Regions from separate parts of the Homo sapiens genome. Here regions 1 and 3 are each linked to region 2. The links are contacts of gene promoters, found by promoter capture Hi-C in blood cells and fetal thymus (Javierre and others, 2016). All regions are on one chromosome and are shown on one strand. Each heading gives the region's core, a stretch centred on a gene start or on the middle of the fragment in contact. The rest is flanking DNA. Distances are from core to core; before and after follow the strand shown.

Evidence for each region. The method cuts DNA at HindIII sites, captures the fragments that hold promoters and counts their contacts. A CHiCAGO score of 5 or more calls a contact.
Region 1: a fragment that was not itself captured here is called in contact with the fragment with the promoter of C9orf153 in region 2 in 1 of 17 cell types (total B cells); the score reaches 5.2 in total B cells.
Region 3: a fragment that was not itself captured here is called in contact with the fragment with the promoter of C9orf153 in region 2 in 1 of 17 cell types (naive CD8 T cells); the score reaches 5.3 in naive CD8 T cells.

The regions. Positions count from the first base shown.
Region 1 is chr9:85,958,799-85,963,551 of GRCh38, forward strand. NAA35 (N-alpha-acetyltransferase 35, NatC auxiliary subunit) reads left to right here. Exons shown (of 23, transcript NM_024635.4): 5 at 995-1,069; 6 at 3,215-3,382. Among named protein-coding and RNA genes, the nearest start is that of NAA35, 20 kb to the left of the region's middle. The HindIII fragment of the contact is 4,550 bases long and covers 1-4,174 here.
Region 2 is chr9:86,258,407-86,262,866 of GRCh38, forward strand. C9orf153 (chromosome 9 open reading frame 153) reads right to left here and starts at 1,251. Exons shown (of 4, transcript NM_001276366.4): 1 at 1,144-1,251. It also overlaps the pseudogene RN7SKP264. The HindIII fragment of the contact is 3,437 bases long and covers 1-2,049 here.
Region 3 is chr9:85,920,169-85,925,027 of GRCh38, forward strand. No RefSeq gene overlaps it. Among named protein-coding and RNA genes, the nearest start is that of NAA35, 19 kb to the right of the region's middle. The HindIII fragment of the contact is 3,528 bases long and covers 1,344-4,859 here.

The DNA.
Region 1 (4,753 bases), core at 650-3,149, 300 kb before region 2:
TACTTTTAAATTTAATTTTTGAAAGCATTTGACTATATATTCAAATAGGAAAATTGGCTTGGGGGTTAAATTTTGTGTATTAATATATTCATATATAAAAGTAAATTTACACAAGTAAAATACTTGTGGTAGTGAATTTAAAATTGCTTTAGAAATTCATTTATACTTGCCATAGAGTTTGATTTTACATATTTTATAAAGAAAGATTTACTAGGCAAATGGATATCGTAAACAAAATTTACAAATAGTATAGTTAACCAACTTAAGTGAAGCATTTTAAAAAATCTTTAGTTTTCGGCTGGGTGCGGTGGTTCATGCCTGTAATCCCAGCACTTTGGGAGGCCGAGGTGGGTGGATCACGAGGTCAGGAGATCAAGACCATCTTGGCTAATACAGTGAAACCCCGTCTCTACTAAAAATACAAAAAATTAGCTGGGCGTGGTGGCAGGCGCCTGTAGTCCCAGCTAATCCGGAGGCTGAGGCAGGAGAATGGCGTGGACCCGGGAGGCGGAGCTTGCATTGAGCCGAGATCACGCCACCTGCACTCCAGCCTGGGCGACAGAGTGAGACTCTGTCTCAAAAAAAAAAAAACAAAAAAAAAAACTTTAGTTTTCTTTCTAAGTAGTTTTGGGTCATTAAAATGATTTATATTAATACTTAAAGCTGGTTTGAACTGTGCTTTTAAAATACTTGTTGATTTGGCTTTTCATTTTATATAAAGGCCTTTATTTTGATATTTCTTGTTGAAGACCTAAGATATATTGTTTTTACAATTATTATTTGTCAATTAAAAATAAAATTTATAAGAAGATATATTGTTTTTAAGAGTACAGAGTTAATTTGGTGTGATAGTTTTATCAGATGATAAGATAGCATTTTCTTAGAATTGCTGTTTTTAAATATTGAATGTTAGAAATCCAAAATGCTACTATACATAGTAACCATAAGTTTAAAAAAATTTCTGCTTATATGTCACATTCTTCCTCCTTTTTAGGATGGCACTATTAAAATTAAAGATCTCACCTTGCCTGAACTGATAGGGATTATGGATACATGTTTTTGCTGTTTGGTAAGAATGGAAATAAGACTATTGGTTAATTTTAAAACTGTGACTTACCTGAATCTTGTGATTTAAAAGCCTATACACTAATGTTGAGTATGAAATAAATGTAATACTTGCCCTAGTAAAGATGTGCATAAGATTAACAGGCCTAGTAATAGCATTTCATCTTGTTATCTACTTGATTTTACATTCTAATTTTCTGGGTGAAGGGATATTTTCTTTTCAATGAAGATAATATTATAGCCGTGGTTCATAATACCCTTTTCGTTCTCAAGTTACTCAAGTGATAAGTCTGTAATTGGAAGGTTTCATAAATAAGCATGGAATTGAAACAAAAGAGAGCTATTATGCAATGGCTTTGGAGAGATTTTTTCTAATCTAGGATAAATTGTAGTAAACTGGCCATCTCCTGTGAAGAAAATTTTTTTAGTGATTTGTATATGCTGAATTATGTCTTCCCTAGAAAGTACTGTTTGTCGAGAAATTCTCATTTCTACTGCTTCCCCCCCGCCCCACTTTCTGACCATCCCTTTCTTTTTATATTGACATTAAATCATTTTCCTTAGAAATATGTAAAATTTATTCATTTGTTCATTCAGCATTTATTGATTGCTAGTGTGTGTACTTGTATTAGGTGTTTTATATGTATAGTTTTCACTTATGTTTTACATGAGCTTTATTAGATATCTGTATTATCTTACTGCCTGTGATTACATTGCTTGGGAGGGGCCTAGCCAGAATCTTAATCCTGATCCTTCATCTTCCAAAGCTGTCTCTTTACCCCCTCAAAGATTTCTTTATTACCTTTTAGCAGTTTACAGTCCTAGTGGGTGGAGTAAAGAAAGGAGTCAAAGGATTGCTGGGAACAGACATGTGAATAAACAATTCTGACAACATGTAAATGCTTTTATGACGGTGCCGTGGGAACAGAGAGGAGGAGTTAATTATGTCTGAGAGAGTAAGAAAGGCTGTAGAAAGGAATTAATACTGGTGTGAGGTACTAAAGAATGGTAGGCGTATGACAGGAAGATTCATGGTTTAGTAGGCAAAGAGGGTATATTGCATGGGCATGACAATGTGAAAATGTTCATTTTGGAAAATCATAAATAGCTGCTTAAGTCTGGCAGGGAGCCAAGTAGGAGGAGTGTGGGATTAGTGGAGAGTGGTGGAGAAGGAGGAAAGGATAAACAGAGGGAGGATTTTTGCCAAAGTTGAGGAACTATTCTGTGAGACTCTTGGGACTGTATTTAAAAATTTGGACTTTAAAAGGCAGATGGTTTTTAGTCTGGAAAGTCTGTCTTCTGCACACTAGTTAATACCAAATACACACCTTAATTACAGAGTTTTCCACAAACATTTGTCATTTTGCAATGCAGTAGCGTATGTCTTACTCTACTGCAGAATTCTTGGGCTTAAGGTAAAAATAACTATAAACTTGGGCAAATGATTTAAACTCTTACTCTGTTTCTTTACATATAAAAGGAGAAAAATACCACCTTTCTCAAAGTGCTAGGAAAAAAATGAGATAAGATATTTGAAAATAACCTAGTATAATATTTGAGACACAGTACTTACCCAATTTTGCCTATTGTTGGTATTCCCAACCTCTAGTACATGGTGCCAGACATATAGTGGTCACTTAGTAAAATAGTATAAAACAATTATCTTAGTGTTTTAGAAAGATCTCTAGTTGGGGGTATTAAATTAGAGATGGGAGGCAGGAAAACCTATCTAGTTTCTTGAAATAATCTAGGTGAGATACGGTGTTGGCTGGGTTGTGGTGGTAAGGATTATAAAGTTCAATGAGTGTCTAAGGATCTGGTTAGTTCTATAATTGTGAATTTTCCAGTTTATGGATTTTTTTATTGACTACATTGTGGAGTTGATTTCTTTTGGATGCTACATAAAGAGGCAGTCTTAATTTCATTAATCTCTAATATGTTGCAAACTGATTGATGTACGACAATGATTCCCATAGACACTTGAAAAATGTTAGTCAATGAAAGTGAATTCTAACGTGTCTTTTTTTTTTAAGTCTTGTGATTAATCTTATTTGGGTCTATGGTGCTCTGGCCTTTGACTCTAGGATCAATTTAGACTTTGCAGACTCAGTTTATCACCTTAAATATATACTCTTTTGTTTCTTTATAGATAACGTGGTTAGAAGGCCATTCACTGGCACAGACAGTATTTACGTGCCTTTACATTCATAATCCAGACTTTATAGAAGATCCTGCTATGAAGGCTTTTGCTCTGGGAATCTTGAAAATCTGTGACATTGCAAGGGAAAAAGTAAATAAAGCTGCTGTTTTTGAAGAGGTAAGATTTCGTAATGTAAGAAATCCTTGGCCAGGTGCGGTGGCTCATGCCTGTAATCTCAGCAGTTTGGGAGGCCAAGGTGGGCAGATCACCTGAGGTCAGGAGTTTGAGACCAGCCTGGCCAACATGGTGAAACACTGTCTCTACTAAAAATACACAAAATAGCCAGGTGTGGTGGCATGCATCTGTAATCCCAGCTACTTGGGAGGCTGAGGCATGAGAGTTGCTTGAACCCAGGAGGCAGAGGTTGCGGTGAGCTGAGATTGTGCCACTGCACTCCAGCCTGGGCAACAGAGCGAGACTCTGTCTCAAAAAAAAAAAAAAAAAAAGAAAGAAAAAAGAATTTCTGAAGTTCATTGACTACCTTATTCACTGTGATGTATTTAAATGATTTTGTGATATGTACTTTCGTCTACGTGTATATTTAAAAACAGTTTTTAAAAGTAATGCTGTTGCCATTTACAGATATATTGGGTAAAGTAATTCAGTTCTCTCCAAGAAAGGGCTTTCATCTTAGCATATGTTCTTTCTGTAGTACCATTCATTGAATATCCGTATGTGCAGAGTGCTGTTTTTGGATGTTGTGGGGATTCCCAGAGAAAAATGAAAGAGACAGCCCTTGTCCTCAAGTCTCTTAGAAGTTATAATACAAAAAGGGAGCTAAGGAGAACAAAGATATGAATATTTTAGGGTATAGACATTTTCCTTTAGTTTGTCCTAAGTACCTCACCTGAGGAAGTATTGTGAGTTTTAGAGATAGAAAGATTTTTTTCCCCTTTAGTATAAAAAATAAGCTTTCAGACGCTGATAATTTTCAGGGAATTGCATCTCAACCTAGGACTACAAAAAAAAGAATTGTAAGGGAAAATGTGATAGCATTTGAAATTATTGATAACTATTTTTGTTAAATTCTTCTGTTGAAACTGATATTTCTTTTTAGTGCTGTTACTGCTCCAGAATAAATTTCCTAGGATCCAACAGTGGTTCAGTGTATAATATGTAAAACTTTTCTCAATTTATACTATGTATGTGAGAATAATTAAATGTATACCCAATATGTTTGTCCATATTTGAAGGTATGGCTTTTTTTTTTTTTTTTTTTTTTTTGAGAGGGGGTTTTAGTCCTGTTGCCCAGGTTGGAGTACAATGGGGCAGTTTCGGCTCACTGCAACCTCCATCTCCCGGGTTCAAGCTATTCTTGTGCCTCAGCCTCCCGGGTAGCTGGGATTACAGGCGTGCACCACCATGCCTGGCTAATTTTGTATTTTAGTAGAGACCCGGTTTCACTGTGTTGGCCAGGCTGATCTCGAACTCCTGAGCTCAGGTGATCCACCTGCCTCAGCCTCCCAAAGTTCTGAAATTACAGGCATG
Region 2 (4,460 bases), core at 1-2,500:
TTGAAGTAATTACTTTTAGAGAGCTTGTTTGGAGGTTCTAGCAGGGGAGTGCAGCTACTCATATACCCTTGCCCAAAGAACGGCCCTCCTCTGTTGGGGAAGGTTGTCCGCAGCGTCTGGAAGGACGCATGTGGACGGATGAGGGAGGAAGGAGACATCCACCTAGCCAGCCAGATCAGACAAATTAACCCTGGCCATCAGTGGGGTGACAGATGTTGCAGCCAGATCACCCTCACATCCGGAAATAATTGCTTTTAAAACGCAATATTTGAAAACCTGAATTTTCTTGGGTAAGCAACTATTATATTGCTAATTTAACGAAACTTTTTTTAAAAATATTAATATACTTAAATTTTAGAGCAATTTTAGAATTGGTTAGAAAGTACAATGTTCCCACAACCCCCCTTCTCTGCACCATACACACAGCTTTCCCCTTTTTTTTTTACTACTTATGTTTGTGTGGTACGTTTGTTATACTTGATGAGCCGGTATCAATGCATGGTTACTAACTAAAGCCCATACTTCACAGTTTACATTACGGTCCATTCTTGGTGTTGTGCATTCTATGAGATTTCACAATGTGCAATTACATATATCCACTTTGATAGTATCATACAGAGCAGTGTTTTTTTTTTTTCTTTGAGATAGGCTCTCATTCTGTCACCCCAGCTGGAGTGCAGTGGCGTGAACACAGGTCACTGCAGCCTCAACCTCCCAGGCTCAGGTGATCCTCCCATCAGCCTCCCAAGTGGCAGAGGAAAAACAAAGGACACTGGGTGTGAGGGAGAGGTGCAAAGTCAGGACCAAGCATCCATGGGAACACAGGGGAGGATGAAGGCACTGAGGTTGGGGAGAGAGAGCAGAGCTATCAGTGTTGAAGGCCGGAAAGGATGAGGGAGTCTGCAGGCTCGGCCCGATCAACTGGTTCCAGCTTCTGTGACCTGCCTGGAGGAAGATGAAACAGGCTCCTCATCCTTATTGGTAAAGATAAACCCAAATCCCATCTCACCTCCCAGCTCTGGTCTTCCCACCTTAGCCACTGCCCACCTCACTCCATCTCTCCTTGCCAAGCCTAGACTGGCTTAGTTTTCACTGCTCTGTGGTCTCACAGTGCCCCGTGGCTATGGCTGTAGATGCACTTACCACTTGTTTTACAGTTGTCTCTTCACGTGGTCATATCTGTCTTGAGTCTCTGCACTCCCAGGGCAGAGGCTGGGTCTCATTCATCCAGCAGCCCCAAGGCCCAGCCCCACTCCTAGCATGTGTCATTGCTTAGTGTTAAGTGACTGTCCATTGTGACATGTGGACATTCTCAAGGTCACATAAGCAGCTATATGATGCTAAGCGATGGGGAATTATCTTGCTGCTTGGTGGGGGGTGGGAGACGGTGGAGGATGATGGAAAAGCATTTTTAAAGAGTGAACATTGAGTAGCTGAGTAGCTACTTTTTTTTCTGCCTCAGCTTGTGGCTGGGACCCCGGGCGCACGCCACCACGCCTGGCTAATTTATGTATTTTTCTCTAGAGATGGGGTTTCGCCATGTTGCCCAGGCTGGCGTGAGTATAATTTTTTTTTTTTTTTGAGATGGAGTCTCACTCTGTCGCCCAGGCTGGAGTGCAGTGGCACGATCTCAGCTCACTGCAAGCTCCGCCTCCCGGGTTCACGCCATTCTCCTGCCTCAGCCTCTTGAGTAGCTGGGACTACAGGTGCCGTGAATGTAATTTTTAATCAGTCAAGTTTTTCCTTCTATAGACATGGGCAAAGTGCAAATAAGAAATTGAGAGAGATAATAGAAGGTACAGCTATGCTCTTTGCACCTGGCCAGATATGGGTAGAAGTGGACCAGGGGCTACCTGGCTGTGCAAATTCTCTCCATGAGCCATGCAGCCGTGCTCCAGACTCCATTCCCCACCCATGGGAGGTCCCTGTGGCAATCACTGAAAATTTTCCTGAAACAGCCATTTCCCCAGAATGCAATCTACTGGGCATTTAAATAGTCTGATTGAGTTAATAACTTGTGAACACCGTGGCAACATATCCATAACATGAAGCTTACCGTGTTAAGCCGTTTTAGGTACACAGTTCTGTGGCATTCAGTACATTCACATTGTTGTGCCACCTGCACTGCCTTCCATCTCCAGAGCTTTTTCATCTTTTCCACCTGAATCTGTGTCCATGAAATAAATTTCTCACCCCCTGTCCCCTGTCAATGGACACCTGGGTTGTTCCTACCTTTTGGCTATTGTGAATAATGCTGTTATGAACATGGATATACAAGAAAGTTAATAATTTTAAGCAGAATTTAATAAATACAGAAGATTCTTCCAATGAGAAAATATTTCAAAAGCCTGCCATTCAAAGGTGTTCTGCAGAGCAACAGCACTGGCTTCACTTGGGCCTTTGCTACTAATGCAGAATCTCAGGCTCTGCCCTGGACCTTTGTTACAGAATCTGCTTTTTTTTTTTTTTTGAGACAGTTTTGCTCTGTCACCCAGGCTGGAATGCAGTGGTGCCATCTCATGTCACTGCAACCTCCCCACCTCCCAGGTTCAAGTGATTCTCCTGCCTCAGCCTCCTGAGTAGCTGGGACTAGAGGCGCCCACCACTATGTCTGGCTAATTTTTGTGTATTTTTAGTAGAGATGGGGTTTCACCATGTTGGCCAGGCTGGTCTCGAACTCCTGACCTCAAGTGATCCACTCGCCTCAGCCTCCCAAAGTGCTGGATTACAGGCGTGAGCTACCTACTGCGCCCGGCCAAGAATCTGCTTTTTAACAAGACCCCCAGGTGACTTATTTGCACCTTAAAGTTTGAGGACTGCTTCAAGACATAGAATCCATGGAGAACAAAAAATGAGTACTTTATTTTTTATTCTTTTTTTTTTTGAGACAGGGTCTTGCTCTGTCATCCAGGCTGGAGTGCAGTAGTACGATCTTGGCTCACTGCAACCTCTACCTCCTGGGCTAAAGTGATCCTCTCACCTTGGTCTCCTGAGCAACGGGGACTACAGGCATGTACCACCATGACCAGCTAATTTTTGTATTTTTTGTAGAGACGGCGTTTTACCACGTTGCCCAGGCTGGTCTTGAACTCCTGGGATCAGGTGATCTGCCCACTTTTGCCTCCCAAAGTGCTGGGATTACAGGCTTGAGCCAACACACCTGGCCCAATAAATGGGCACTTCATCATGAAAAGTTTCGGAATCACTAGCTAGTGGAAGTAAAAGCAGTAACCCATCAAGGCCCTCAAAGTAGGCTAGTTTTAAGCTGAGTACCGCTGGTACAGAGCCCTTGCCCCGCTAAAGGTTGGTGTGAAATGAAGCCTTCCCTGAACACTGCACAGCAGCAAGGGAGGATGGGAGTCCACAGTGATGTAACCACCACATGGCTCTGTATTTCAATAGAGGCTGAGGCTAGGGTGCACCTCCCTCTCTCCTCCATCTCTTGTCTGATGAGACCCACCTGGGACCAGGAGATTGAGTTCCTACTGGGGAATGAGCTTTCAAAACAGCTCCTCAATTAAGGCAGGTTTGTCTATAGTTAATCAGCTACTAAGAGAATGAAATTTCTCCGAATGTTTATATTTGAAATTTATGGTTCTTTTCAAAGAAGTTACTGTGGTCTTTTATTTGAAGGAAATACAGCAAATTTCCCCCAGATTTGAATATGGGACAATAACTCCCTAAATGTGTTGAAACTCTTTCCCTAAGCTCTTGCTTTGATTGATAATCCATTAACATATTATCCCTTTTTGCACAAGAAAATGGCTAAAAGGGACAAGAATTACAACGTATGAAACGTCTACCCTTAGCAGGATGCCATTTATGTGTAGTTAGCTCATCACATCCCCCCAAATTCTGAGACTGTTTTACAGAAGGTTACATGGCTACAAAATGACAGGAACCATGATTCAAATCCAGGCATATCTCACCCCAAACCTACACCTTTCCAGGCCAGCCTCCCAGCCTGCACTGAGCTCAGGTGAGCTGTATTTGGGTTTATTCTGGGTCGATGCTGTGTCTGGCCCATGCCACGTCTGCTCTAAGGCTCAAATGAGACACTGATGTTGCTTACAGCTCAGCTTAGCACAGGCTTTTCCATTTCCTGATTTCTCAGGTATCAAAACATGACAAGAAAGGCCATTTTTTTTTTGAGGTATTTCCTGCTGAGTGAAACCTAGGAAATACTGGAAATCTTAGGGACATCTGATCTTGTAGGGATTGTTCCCAACCCTTTCCTGTTTGAGAAAAAAAAAATCATTCTGGTGGGTCCGGTGACAGAGGGCTGGGAGGCGCCCTGCAACAATGAAGCACAGCAGGCCTCTGTCCTCATGGCCTGATTCATTCAATTTAGCATCCTGATGTGGAAGAGTGGGCTTATAACTGATCATGAAAAGCCTGAAGTCTGCTGCTAAGCGACAGATCTGCTGGCCTACACATCACCCAGGGGCACTACCAAATCG
Region 3 (4,859 bases), core at 1,858-4,357, 340 kb before region 2:
GCTAACACGGTGAAACCTTGCTCTACTAAAAATATAAAAAATTAGCCGGGTGTGGTGGCACGTGCCTGTAGTCCCAGGTACTCAGGAGGCTGAGGCAGGAGAATCACTTGAACCCAGGAGGTGGAGGTTGCAGTGAGCCGAGATCGCACCACTGCACTTCAGCCTGGGTGACAGAGCGAGACTCCGTCTCAAAAAAAAACCAAAAAACACACACACGCACACACACACAAAACATAATTTCTGCCAGTTTCGCCTCTTGATTATGGATCTATTCAGTTCATGTGGTGTATGCCTCTTTTTTTTTTTTTAACGATATCAAGTCTTACTCTGTCACCCAGGCTGGAGTTTCAGGGTGCGATCACGGCTCACTGCAGCCTCAACCTCCTGGGCTCAAGCGATGCTCCCATCTCAGTTTCACAAGTAGTCGGGACTACATATTTGTGCCACCATGCCCCAAATAATTTTTGTATTTTTTGTAGAGACAGGGTTTTGCCATGTTGCCCAGACTGGTCTCGAACTCCTGTGCTCAAGCAATCTGCTTGCCTCGACCTCCCAAAGTGCTGAGATTATAGGTGTGAGCCACTTTGCCTGATCTTGTGCATGGCTTTTAAAAGCAGGCAACCCAGTGCCATTCCAATTTGCATTTGGTGCTCAGGAATAGGCTGCAGTTAGCAGTGTTTCCAGGAGTTGTCCAGAATACATATTTTACTTTCTTTTTGTGTTTTTCTGTTTTCTTTTGTCTGCTAAGTTTTGTGGCTGAATTTTCGAGTTGTGCTTTCCACCTCTTTCTTTGGGGGAACTCTTTATACCTCTGTCTGACACAGTACATTTTGTCCCCTTATCCACTTGCTGTTGTGGACATCAGTGAGTGCACCCACAGCCTCAGGTAGGTGACTATTTATTTATTTATATTATTATTATTGTTTTTTGAGACAGGGTCTTGCTCTGTTGCCCAGGCTGGAGTGTAGTGGCACAATCTCAGCTCACTGCAACCTCCACTTCCCAGGTTCAAGCGATTCTCATGGCTCAGCCTCACAAGTAACTGGGATTACAGGCACCTGCCACTATGCCTGGCTAATTTTTGTATTTTTAGTAGAGACAGGGTTTTGCCATGTTAGCCAGGCTGGTCTCGAACTCCTGACCTCAAGTGATCCGCCCACCCTGGCCTGCCAATGTGCTAGGATTACAGGCATGAGCCACTGCGCCTGGCCAAGGGATTCTTTAAAATTCCACCAGCAGCTATAATCTCTCGCTTCCCCTTTCCCATACAATCAGCTCCAAGTGCTAAGATTTAGGCATCTATTATGTGCCAGACATTGTTAAAATAAATTCTTTATATTTCAAGCTTTCTATATATGATCTTATTTCATCTTTCCAATTATGCTAAAAAATGGGTGCTATTATTATCTTCCCCATATTATTACCTTTCCCTAAATGGAAGAAACTGAAATTCTTTCCATTTCAGTCACACCTCAAAATAAGGAAAGAGACTCCGTGGTTCCTGGTTATAAATGACAGAAACTGACCCTTGCTGATGTAAGAAGGGAGCACATTTATTAAAAATGTCTTGGGTTTGGATGTAAATGTCTTCTTGGTGTCAAAATTCTATTGATTTTATAGCTCATCTTTATCCTATTTGAGTTTTCTAATAAATTTAAAGTTGACAAAAGACAGAAATTCTTTACATTTTTGCTTCTACAAGACTATGAACCTGTTAAAAACCAATTATGTCCCTTTTTTCTAAGTAGCTAATGTAGGGTCTTGAATATGTTGTGTACTGATTAAATGTGTGACTCGTTGAGGTATAGGTGGATTCTGCCTTCTAGCATAGGGCTGAGGTGTGGTCTGAAGCAAGCCATTGCCTAGCAGCTTGTTAGAAGTGTAAAGTCATGGGCCTCACCCTGGACCTGCTGAATCAGGATCTGGGGAAGAAGGAGCAGGACATATTAACAAGCCATTCAGGTGATTCTGATGCACTCTTGGGTTTGAAAAGCTCTGCTTTCATGGCTCCTAGTCCAGTAGACCCATGGAAAAATTAATTTATAAACAAATATTCACTATTTAATCTAAAAGCCATAGTAATAAGTAATGCCTCTTTACTAAAATGTAAGAGGTATGAGTTCACCTTAAAACTGTGATGTCTTTCTCATCTTCTCCTGCCCTAAGCTACTTCATTCCTTCCTTTTTCATTTGTGTGCTGTTCAGAAATCAAGGTAGAAGTCAAGTGATGTTTGCTGTTTTGTGTGACACACCAAGTCACACCCGATCCACACTGATCAGGATAGGAAATTGTTTCTTCCATCTAGTGACTTGAAAGAGAAGGGAGCATCAGTTTGAGTGAATGTGTGTCAGCCTAGAGAGATAGATAGAGCATCTATCTCTCTGTATCTATCTATCTATCATCTATCTGTCTGTCTGTCCGTCTGTCTATCTATCTACCTATCTATCTATTGATCGAACTCACTCATTACCATGAAGATGGCACCAAGCCATTTCATGAGGGACTTGCCTCCATGACCCAGACACCTCCCACCAGGCCCCACCTCTAACATTGGGGATTACATTTCAACATGAAATTTTGAGGGGACAAACCTCCAAACCGTATCAGCCAGCTTTCTCTAGAGAAGTGATTCTCAACTTTGGCTTCACATCAGAATCACCTGGTGGGTTTCTAAAAACTTTCATTACCCTGTGCTCTGGAGGTTCAGGTGGAGCCAGGAGAAATGTGGATCTTCCCAAGTTGCCCATTCTTTGACACTTACCCACTTTGAAATCAACATATGACTGGTTAGCTGCAACTTATGAGATACTATTGCTAGCAGCTCTTTGGGCCTTGTGGGTGGCCACAAATCCCTCCAATGGTACCAGGTTGGCCATAAAATATGCTGCCCTCCAGACCTTCTGCTTCTGGGACTATTCCAGGAGTTTGAGTTCTAACCAGGAATGTTTCTTGCCTCTCTGAGCTGGAATCCCAAGCCCTCTGAGAGCTTAATTTTTTAAAAAAATGTTGTATTGCAGCTTCAGTTAAATGATTTTTAGTAAATTTACAAAGTTGTAAAGCTATCACTACCCCAGAAACATCCCTCATGACCCCTTACAATCACTCCCCATTCGCACTCCTGACCATGCTCAAATTCTACTTTTTTTTTTTTTTTTTTTTTTGGAGACAGGGTCTTTCCCTGTTGCCCAGGCTGGAGTTCAGTGGCACGATCATGGCTCACCGCTGCCTCAACATTTTGGGCTCAAGCAGTCCTCCCCACTCAGCTTCCCAAAGTGTTGGGACTGTACGCATGAGCCACCGCACCTGGTCAAATTCTTTTTTAAAAGAGCTATATTGAGATATAACTCACATACCATGCAATTAATCTATTGAAGGTGTACAGTTCAAGGGCTGGTAGTATTTTCAGAGTTGTGGGCCCATCATGACAATGTATTTTAGAACATTTTCATTACCTCAGAAAGAAACCCTGTACCCCTTAGCCATCACTCCCAACCTTCTAACTCCCCTAGCCCTAGGCAACCACTGGTCTACTTTTTGTCTCTAGAGGTTCGCCTTCTCTAGATATTTTACATCAATGCAATCATATAATGATGTGGTCTTTTGTGACTGGCTTCTCCTTTGAACATCAGAGTTTCAAGGTTCATCATCCATGTTATAGCATGTATCAATACTTCATTTCTCTTTATTGCTGAATAGTATTCCATTGTATGAATATATCACATTTTATTTATCCATCATCAATTGATAGACATTGGGTTGTTTTCACTTTTTGGCTCTTAGGAATAAAGGGACTGTAACCTAGTCTTGTAACAAGTAGCAGAGAGCCAATCACAGAAGCTGAATTTCAGCCAATCACAGGCAGCCAACTGTTTAAACCACGTTCCAATAAGGCAAATGCAGAGCTGTAACCAATCCACCTTTTTCCTTACCTCACTTCTGTTTTCCATATATCATTTCTTTTTCTGTGCATAAATGTCATGTGACTATGTGGCAGCCCCAGAGCCTGATTTGTTAATTGTTCTTTGCTCAATTAAACTCTAAGTTTAATTTGTCTAAAGTTTTTCTTTTAACAGGACATTCATGTACACATTGTGTGGAAATAAGTTTTTATTTCTCTCAGGTATATACCTAGGAGTAGAATAGATGGGTTATAGGGTAACATATGTTTAGCTTTCTTTTCTTTTCTTTTCTTTTTTCTTGAGACAGGGTCTCACTTTGTTGCCCAGGCTGGAGTACAGTGGTGGGATCACAGCCTTGCAGCCTTGAATTCCTGGACTCAAGTGATCCTACTGCTTCAGCCTCTTTAATAGTTAAGACTACAGACGTGCACCACCATGCCTGGTTAATTTTTAAAAATGTTTTTGTAGAGACTGGGTCTCACTTTGTTGCTCTGACTGGTCTTGAACTCCTGGCTTCAAGTGATCCACTTGCCTTGGCCTTCCAAGATGGTGGGATTACAGGTGTGAGCCAGTGTGTCTGGCCTGTTTTAGCCTTTTGAGGAACTGCTATTCTTTTCAAAGCAGCTGTGCCATCTTACATTCCTATCAGCAACGTATGCGGGTTCCAATTTCTTCACATCCTTATCAACAATTTTTATTATGGATCTCTTTTATGATGTGAAGTGGTGTCTCATTTGTATTTTCCTGATGGCTAATGCTGAGTATCTTTTCATGTGTACACTGGCCATTTGTAGTTCTTATTTGGAGAATAGCCTATTCAGATCTTTTGCTTATTTTTAGATTGGGTTACTTGTCTATTTATTATTGAGTTGTAATAGTTCTTTATATGTCCTATATACAAGTCTTGTATCAGATATATGACTTGCAAAAATTATCTTCCATTCCTTGGGTTGTCTTTG